Regions from separate parts of the Homo sapiens genome. Here all the other regions are linked to region 2. The links are contacts of gene promoters, found by promoter capture Hi-C in blood cells and fetal thymus (Javierre and others, 2016). All regions are on one chromosome and are shown on one strand. Each heading gives the region's core, a stretch centred on a gene start or on the middle of the fragment in contact. The rest is flanking DNA. Distances are from core to core; before and after follow the strand shown.

The links. The method cuts DNA at HindIII sites, captures the fragments that hold promoters and counts their contacts. A CHiCAGO score of 5 or more calls a contact.
Region 1: a contact is called between a fragment that was not itself captured here and the fragment with the promoter of PIGH in region 2, in 7 of 17 cell types (fetal thymus, naive CD4 T cells, M0 macrophages and 4 more). The highest score is 6.0, in fetal thymus.
Region 3: a contact is called between a fragment that was not itself captured here and the fragment with the promoter of PIGH in region 2, in 1 of 17 cell types (M1 macrophages). The highest score is 5.2, in M1 macrophages.

Annotation. Positions count from the first base shown.
Region 1 is chr14:67,431,010-67,434,127 of GRCh38, reverse strand. It overlaps a transcript of GPHN not described here. Among named protein-coding and RNA genes, the nearest start is that of MIR5694, 9.4 kb to the left of the region's middle. The HindIII fragment of the contact is 3,254 bases long and covers 70-3,118 here.
Region 2 is chr14:67,599,018-67,602,152 of GRCh38, reverse strand. PIGH (phosphatidylinositol glycan anchor biosynthesis class H) reads left to right here and starts at 1,885. Exons shown (of 4, transcript NM_004569.5): 1 at 1,885-2,129. The coding sequence starts at 1,950. It also overlaps a transcript of GPHN not described here. RefSeq lists an enhancer at 1,888-2,207. The HindIII fragment of the contact is 5,160 bases long and covers 869-3,135 here.
Region 3 is chr14:67,413,801-67,417,049 of GRCh38, reverse strand. It overlaps a transcript of GPHN not described here. Among named protein-coding and RNA genes, the nearest start is that of PLEK2, 3.3 kb to the right of the region's middle. The HindIII fragment of the contact is 1,654 bases long and covers 904-2,557 here.

The DNA.
Region 1 (3,118 bases), core at 447-2,946, 170 kb after region 2:
ATCAAAAAGGAGCAGGATACTGGCCTTTTATAGTTAGATCTGTTCTTTAGCTATTTTGGATAGAAAGCTTAATTTGCCACATATATTTCTCCCCCATCTGTGGCTTTCATTTTTGTGTTTGCTTTATTACATTCTGTGGCACAAAAGGCTTTTAAAAACACATTTAGATCCGTCCATCCTGTCTCTGATATCTAATTTCATCAATAGTCAAAATGTTTTCTTCTCATCACAGTGGAAACACATTTGCTTTCCCATTTTCTCTGGCTTTTTATGACCCACTTAGACGATATTTGTTAAACAGTGATTCTTTCTTGTAGCATTGTGTTGATGCTTATTCATCTTATATCAAGTCTTTAAATAGCTTGAATTTGTTTCTGTAGAGTATGTCTCTTCTATTACCCTGGCCAACTTTTCTTGTCTTTACCCCAGTGAAATATAGTGATGACTGCTTTTTTAAGTTTACCCTCCTCCTTCTTTTTCCCCCACAAAAATTTTTTTGATATTTTGTCCATTCATACTCCCGATGAGTTTTAATGGGTTTGTTGTTGTTGTTGTTGTTGAATTATAGGATGCGTCTCATTTGTCTTTATATTCCATTTTAGTTTTAACTATTTAGACTTCACAATTAGGATCAAAGTACATCTCTGTATTCTTTCACGTTTTCCTCTATACCTCCAACTTTAAAATTTTCTTTGAAAAAAAAATCATTTATTCCAAGTTAAATTAATTCTGAACCACTAAATTTTTGTGTGTGAATAAGCCATCTTTCTCCCTCCCTTTTCTCTTCTCTCTGTCCCACTCTTACTCTCATTCTCATGCTCACTAAAATACAAGTATTTTGACACCAAACCATGTAGCTACCATGGTATATACTTCCACCCTCCAGGCCCAGCACCTGTTTCTGGGCATCTGCCAGCAGCCATCCATCAGCTCTGAGGATACCTCTGTGTGCCTTGTTCCCTTTTTCTGGCCCTCCTTGTAAGATGGGCATCAACTTCCTGGGTTGGGACATGGCTGGTTAAGGAAGAGTCAGAATGTTCTAAAAGTGCCCTCCCTATTTATTGAACAAAACAGAAAAACAGAGAGGACTACGTTGAATGGTGTCTCCTTAACATTCAAGCTCAACAAGAAGCTCAGAATGTGACCTTATGTGGAAACAGGGTCTCTGCAGACATAATTACTTAAAATGAGGTCATACCTAGATGAGGGTGGGCCCTAAATCAAATGACTGGGAACTTTATAAAAGAGAAAACAAAGACACACAGACAGGGAAAACACCACATGCGACCACCAAAACAGAGATTGGAGTGATGCCCCTACAAACCCAGGACCACCCAGGTTGCCGGCAACCACCATAAGGCAGCAGAGAAGCCCGAGATTCTCCCTCAGAGCTTCCAGAAAGAACCAACTCTGCCAACACCTTGGTTTCGGACTTCTGTCCTCCTGAACATGAGAGAATACATTTCTGTTTATTTCAGCCCCACAGTTTGTGGCAATTTGTCATGGCAGCCCTAGAACACCAGGCTCTTCACATAGTCTGTCCTGAGAGCTTGCCCGCTGCTGACTTTTAAAGGTACGATGCTCTAAAACACAGAAGAGAGGTGTCCTTGTAAACGTGTCTCAGAGCAGAGAATGAACAGTCCATTCTGGAAGGTAAATACTCAAGACAGGAGATATTTTTCTGTTTCCTGACCAACTGCAAGTCTCTCTTTGCAGAAGGCGAACTATTTATGGCACATTCCAGGTTCTAAGAACCAGGGCTCGTTCGCCAAGGAAGGCAGTGTGGTGTAATTCAAAGGCTTCAGAAGTTGGGCTCTGACCACCAGGGTCTAAATCTTGGTCCTGCCATTCTTTAGATGCCTAACTCTGGGCAGATCATTTAACCTCTTGGAGCTGGATTTCCCATCTGTAAGTGGAGACAATAATGATTTAGGGCCAACATATCTTAGGGAGTTGTTGCTGGGATCCGACGAGATAATTTATGAGCACACATTCTTTAAGCTGGAAAGCACTGGGCAGATGTTACCAATTCATAGTGGCTGCCTGTGGGGCAGGAGAGACACACTTCTCACTATATTCCATTTTGTTCTATGTGACATTTTCATGTACATATTGAAAAGAATATGTTAAAAAATTTAAGGGTAATCACTGTGAGCGCAACATGAACACATTAAATAAAGATGTTTGCTTTTTATCCTATTAAAAGATTTTAATATGCAAAATGAAGAAGAAAAAGTAGATAAAATTGTGCTCCAGTTCCAAGCTCACCCAAAGATGACATCTAGAGTATGGGCACTGACTGCCCCCTGCGGAAACCTCTGTTCCCTTCCCCCACCCCAGTTTCCATGTGGGAGCTTCTGGGACACAACCCAGCTCACATTTCCCCAACCTTTTTTGCCGCTGTTTTGGTCTGCTGCTGCTGCTGCTGCTGTTGTTGAGTTGGGGTCTCACTCTGTCACCCCAGCTGGAGTGCAATGGTGGCATCTCAGCTCACTGCAGCCTGGACCTCCTGGGCTCAAGCGATCCTCCCACCTCAGCCTCCAGAGTAGCTGGGACCACAGATGTGTGCCACAACACTGGGCTAATTTTTAAAATGTTTTGGGTAGGGATGGGGTCTCATAATGTTGCCCAGGCTGGTCTCAAACTCCTGGGCTCAAGCGATTCTCCTACTTTGGCCTCCCAAAATGCTGGGATTACACTAAACCGTTTTTTTTTTTTTTTTTTTTTTTTTTTTTTGAGACAGAGTCTCACTCTGTCACCCAGGCTGGAGTGCAGTGGCGCGATCTCGGCTCACTGCAACCTCCGCCTCCCAGGTTCAAGCAATTCTCCTGCCTCAGCCTGCCGAGTAGCTGGGATACAGGCAAGCGCCACCATGCCCAGCTAATTTTTGTATTTTTAGTAGAGATGGGGTTTCACTATGTTGGTCAGGCTGGTCTCGAACTCCTGACCTCGTGATCCACCCGCCTCGGCCTCCCAAAGTGCTGGGATTACAGGCGTGAGCCACCACGCCCAGCCTATGCTGAACCCTTTTTATCTGCTCTTGTTAGCCCAGATTTGGTGAACTAGAATTAGCTGTTCATGCCTGCCATGGATTTCCCATGGTTTGATTTGTCTTTCT
Region 2 (3,135 bases), core at 636-3,135:
AACTGTGAGTCAATAAACCTCTTTTCTTTATAAATTACCGAGTCTCAGGTAGTTCTTTATAGCAGTGTGAAAACGGACTAATAAAAGGAGTGTATTAATTGTCAGATTCGGGGCACAGAAATAAAACTAGAAAAATAAAGAAGTGCTTGAAGAAATCCTTTAGGAAAAAAGAAAGGGAAATAAAATTCTGAATGAAGATGAAGAAACGGAACCTTTCATCAGAGAGACTTAAAGCTGGTGAGACCTTTATGCCATGGATCTTTTTTTTTTTTTAAATGAATATAGACACAGTCTTGCTCTGTTGCCCAGGCTGGTCTTGAACTCCTAAGTTCAAGTGATTCTCCTGCCTCAGCCACCCGAACAGCTGGGATTACAGGCATGCTCCACCATGCCCAGGTAATTTTTTTGTATTTTTAGTAGAGATGGTTTCACCATGTTGGCCAGGCTGATCTTGAACTCCTGACCCAAGTGATCTGCCCTCCTCAGCCTCCCAAAGTGCTGAGATTACAGGCATGTGCCACCATGCCCAGCCCATCACAAGTGTTTTGACAGTCCACATAGCCACTCCTGGGCCACATCAGAAGTAAAAATGGAACTCATAGGCCACTATTACTCATGAGTTTAGTAATTTTATTATCCATTTCTTCTGCATCTCCCGCTCCTGCTTAATTCCCAGCCAGGTCTTGCCTGTCTACCACGGTCCAAGCAGTCATTTGGGAGACAGAACTCCCAGGCAGTGAAATCCAAACTCCTTACCAGACCCTACAAGACCCTCTTGGATCTGACCCCTACCTGCCTCCCCAGCTTCCAACTGTTTTCCCCACACACCAACCTTTCTCGCCTTTTGATTATTTCATTAAGCCAAGCTTGTTCCAACTTCGAGGGGTTTGCCTTTCCTGGTCTTTCTTTCTGGCAAATTCCTCCTCCAGAGCTCCTTCAGTCCTGTCTGGCTCGTCACCCTTGTAACTCAGTGTCCTCTTACTTAGAGACTTCGCCTGACTGCCCTATGTAAAGTCCTCAGTCCATCCCTGCCAGTCAGCATAGTATTGCCAACGATACTCTCTTATTTCCATATTGTCTCCTACTAGAAAGGAAGCTGCCCGAGGGCAGAGACTGTCATCAACATCGTTCACTGCTGCATCCTCAAGCACCTCAAACTACCCGGCACAGGAAAAGAGTAAGTGAAATGAATACCCGTGGGCTCTCCTTGCGGCTCACTCTGGCTTAGAGAAATCGGCTTGCCAAGCAAAAGCATGATTAAAACTGTGGGTTTGGGCTGGGTGCGGTGGCTCACGCCTGTAATCCCAGCACTTCGGGAGGCCGAGGCGGGCGAATCACCTGAGGTCAGGAGTTTGAGACCAACCTGGCCAACATGGTGAAACCTGTCTCTACTAAAAATACAAAAATCAGCAGGGCGTGGTGGCGCGCGCCTGTAATCCCAGCTACTCAGGAGGCTTAGGCAGGAGAATCGCTTGAACCCGGGGGAAGCAGGTTGCAGTGAGCCGACGTCGCGCCATTCCGTCTCAAAACAAAAACAAACTGTGGGTTTGTTTTGAGACAGGGTCTTGCTCTCTCGCACAGGCTAGAGAGCAGGGGCATGATCTCCGCTCACTGCAACCTCGACCTCCCAGGCTCAAGCGATCCTCCCGCCTTGGCCTCCCAGTGCTGGACTACAGGCCTGAGTCAACGCGCCCGGTCTAAAAACGATTTTAATCTTTCCACTTAACTATTGCCCCGACGAGGTTTTTTCGAAGACAGTCAAGGCCGGCCCGGAAGAACGCACAACCATCAGCCCCCAGCAGAGCTCTCGGCGCGCAACTGAGGCTGCGCAGGCTTAGGGCGGGGCGTGGTGACGCGGCTGCCGGAAGCGGGTCTGGAGCGGGCGAGACGGCCAGGGCCGGCGAGCGCAGTGCAGCGCCGCGCGGTGCGGGCGGCCGAGTGGGGGCGTCATGGAGGATGAGCGGAGCTTTTCGGATATCTGCGGCGGCCGCCTGGCGCTGCAGCGCCGCTACTACTCCCCGTCCTGCCGGGAATTCTGCCTCAGCTGCCCTCGGCTCTCGCTGCGTTCGCTCACCGCTGTCACCTGCACGGTGTGGCTGGCGGCCTACGGACTCTTCACCCTCTGCGAGGTAATGGCAAGTCGGCCCCTCCCCGCGCTCGAAGGAGGGGGTTCGGCTTTGGGAGGGTCTTTGGGGTCTTTGGTCGAGCCCGGACCTCTGGTCGGCCCCTCCTACAGTGATAGGACAGGAGGGCGGGAACTCACGGGTTCTGGGGACGATATTCCGCTGCTGGACAGCTCTTTAAATGACGTTTAGTGAAATGTGTGCTCCTGGATAGTACATTCCCCTTCCGTGGCTGTGCTCTGCTCCGTGGGTTCACTCAGCATACATCTAGTTCTTGCGCGACGGCCTAAAACTTTAACTGCCATGTGTTCTATGTAGTATAGGCGCGCAGTAATTTAATTCCAAGAGTTCAAGGAACTACTAAGTGGGTCTTCCTCGTCCATCCCTTCTGCTCCTCAAAGTAGTACTGCTAACAATACTTTACGTAGACTTCCACAAACTGTCTTTGCCTCCACAAGTGTGTGTGTTTATCTGTGTGTATAGATAGAGTGTTATAGTTCTTCCTAATCTCTGTTTTTCAAGGGAGTTTTTTAACCCTCCCTCCTCCCAAACCCTTCCCCAATTTCAAGTACTTTCTAAAGGTTTATGAAATTTTGGACGTGTGTGATAGCTGTGCTCAATTTCCAGATTCATTCCTGTTTTCTCTGAGCCTCAATTTTCTACATCTCTAAAATAGAATTCATGCCTGCCATACCAGCTTCATGATATTGTGAGGGTTAAATGCAGTAACTTTGTGACAGCTCTCAAATAAAAAGAATTATCCTAATTTTCAGGATAAGTTCTAGTTTCATATGTAGTGCCTGAATTGAATGTATTATCCCAGAAGTGATCTAATCAGAGCTAAGTACAGCAGGGCTATTTATTTTTGTAACTTGGATATTGTTTCCATTACTGCATCCATTCGCTTTTTTGCTGTCAAAGCGTGTTTCAGAGCATGGTAATTTAGCATAGAAATATGCAGAATTAAGACTGCCCTAATTGCAGGAAACTATCTAACTATCTAAACCGTATG
Region 3 (3,249 bases), core at 481-2,980, 180 kb after region 2:
CTGGGCATTACCACAACATTCAAGCACACAGTCCGTGGTCTTGATTCACTGAACAGAATATAGACCAGTTTGGGTGACGTAGAAGTCTCCAATAAGTCACTTGTGGCAGAGGCTGTTTTCTGGTCATGCACAGTAGGACCACTCAATGTTCACAGCTCAGAAGTCCAGTCTTCACCACAGATAGTGTGAGAAGCCTCACCTTTATGGTGGAGCATCTGCCCTGTGAACTGCAGTGTCCCCGGAATTAGTACAAAAGATGCTGTTAATCAACAATGCTGCTGTTAATGGAAAAGATACCTTGTTTACACTGACATATGAGGCCCCAGGGCAGGTCTGTGTGTCACCCATGGCACTGTCCGTGCTTTGTACACGGACATTCTCAGTATCTGTCTCCCTGCTTCAGTGAATGAATGAATGAATTGACAGATGAATGAATATACATTTCTGTTGTAGCAGAGCAACTAGCTGGATGGCCTTGGGCATAGCCACGAATTAGGCAAAATTTCTCTTTAGTCTTTTCCTGCCTGTACTTCTAGCTCCTGTCTCCTCTGGCTTTTTGCCTCTGCCCAATCTTTTCAGTGCCTTCAGGGTGCTCTCCTGGCTGCCCGGGACCCCACACGCCCTCCTTTTCCTACAAATGATGCGCTACTCTGGGACTTCACCGCCCAGTTCTCTAGCAGTTTTCCAGCAACTTCTCAGTTCTGAGTCTCTTCCAGGGGACGTCCCTCTAGCTGGCCGTCCCCCAGGTAGCAGGGCTCAGCCTTGACTGAGATAACACACAGCTTACGCAAGTGGGGGTTGTCCCTGCTGGTTCTGAGAAAATCAGCAAAGCTTTCTACTCAAAGCATGATGTGGGCTGATAAAAAATAAATAAGCAAATACATTTTTAAAATCAGCAAAGCTTCTTGTTTAATTATCTTAAGTTTCAAGGTACATGTGCGGGATGTGCAGGTTTGTTACACAGGTAAATGTGTGCCATGGTGGTTTGCTGCACCTATCAACCCATCACCTAGGTATTAAGCCCAACATGCACTAGCTATTTTTCCTGATGCTCTCCCTCCCGCCACATCCCCTGACAGGCCCCAGTGTGTGTTATTCCCCTCCCTGTGTCCATGTGATCTCAATGTCCAGCTCCCACATACAAGTGAGACCATGCGATGTTTGGTTTTCTGTTCCTGTGTTAGTTTGCTGAGGATAATGGCTTCCAGCTTCATCCAAGTCCCTGCAACGGACATGATCTTATTCCTGTTTTTGGCTGCATAGTATTCCATGGTGTATACGTACCACATTTTCTTTATCCAGTCTAACATTGATGGGCATTTGGGTTGATTCCATGTCTTTGCTATTGTGAATAGTGCTGCAATGAACATACACATGCATGTATCTTTATAATAGAATGATGTATATTCCTGAAAATACTATACTGAATGCTGGCGTAGACGCAGTGAGACTGGCATTGTCATACGCTGCTGGTGAGGATAGCATGTGATACATTTCTAGAAAGCAGTTTTGTGATATGCTTCAAGAATTTTAAAAATTTACACCCTTTAACCTAAAATTATACCTTAGATGTTTATCTGAAATAATCAGAGATCTGGCAAAATGTGTATGTACAGAGATATTTATCATAATACTATTTACACAGTGAAAAAGGAAATTCAACCTACATGGGAATGATTAAATTCAGTCACCATGAAATTTTATGCAGTTATTTAAATTATGTTTTTGAATTACTTTTAATGACCTGGTAAGATACTTATTAGCTATTATAAGTTAAAAAAAAAGGCAGGGTTCAAAAATTTTAAATAAAATTTAATTTAAAAGTATGTGCATATAAACATACTGATCATCTGTCTGAGTGATAGATTCAGGGTGGTTTTATCCCTTTTGGTATTTTCTAAATATTCTATAATATGCACAAATGTATTTTTATGTTCAGAAAAAAATGTAGAAGGATTTTTTGAAGTCTTTTCCAGTTCTGCAGACAGAGCCCTTCCAGGCCTGCAGCCCCCCTCTCACTGCAGGATGCTCTGATGCAGGTCGCTGCTGGGGGCATTGCCCTGTATTTGCCAGGAGCCAGCCTTGAGCTCTGTTAGCCTGTATTCTGGCCCTGGTTTTACCACTAACTGGCTGCAAGACCTTGGACAAGTCATTTTATTTCCCTGGGCTTTGAGGGTCCTCATTTATAAAATGAAGCATCCGGATTTGGTGATCTTTAGGGATTAGATTCTGATTCTGTGATTCCGGTAAACTCAAGAAGTCCAGGCATTTATTGTGAATAAGTTTCCATGATTTATCCTTTTCCACTCTATGTATCTTAAACAGGGGATTCTTATCTGAAGCTAAAGGAATGAATCTCTAATGATAGATTCTCACATCAGGCTGTGAGTCACCTATACTTAAACACAGACCTAATAGTTTTCTGCAACTCAGCACCCTAGGCATTATCTGTCCCTGTCCCTTCGGGACAAAAAGGGGAGGAGCTGAGAGGGCCAGGGACCCTTCCACATCAGCCTCCAGGCCTGAGAGGGAGAGGAGGGGTGTCTCTCTGAAAGCTTCTTGCTCGTCCCTGCCCCCTCCCCCAGCTGTTTACTGCTGTCTGCTTCCTTCTGTCTCCATCCTCTTCCCTATGGGTGAGTTGGGCTTATGTCATCATGGTTCCCTGGTGGGCTGGTGGCTCAGCCACCACAGCCTGGGGAAGGAAGGGGTATGACTCATGCCCCAGATCCAGTGAGTCAGGCAGGGTGGGCTGGACCAGGGGTTTCCTAGGACAGGAAGCAGGTTCTAGGTGTGCCTTAACTTCTTCCTGGCAGGAGCCCTGCCAGGAGAAGGTATCCATCTCTTTCCCATTCCCATTTCTGTGAATTCATTCAAGAACCCCTCCTGCCAAAGAAAATGCCACTTCTTCTAAGCCTCAGAAGATTGTGTCTGGGTGGGGCCAAGACAGCCTCTTTGAGGAAGGAGATGGATAGACCACAGTTAGAGCCGAAGAGGATGAGAACTTCCCAGCTCAACCTCTCAAGTCCTGGCTTTCAGCCCAGCTAGGTTTCAGAGCTGGGACAATTCCTTAGGAGGCAAGAGTATTTGCAATGCCCTGGAGCTGCATAACCTTGGGCAAGTTATTTAACTACTTGGATTCAGTTTCCTTGACTGGAAAATGACATAATAAACACCTCATGGGGTTGTTGTACTTTAGATAAAACCTAGCACCTACTACTACAGGCCTGGCTTCAGAAGGTGACCAGCTGA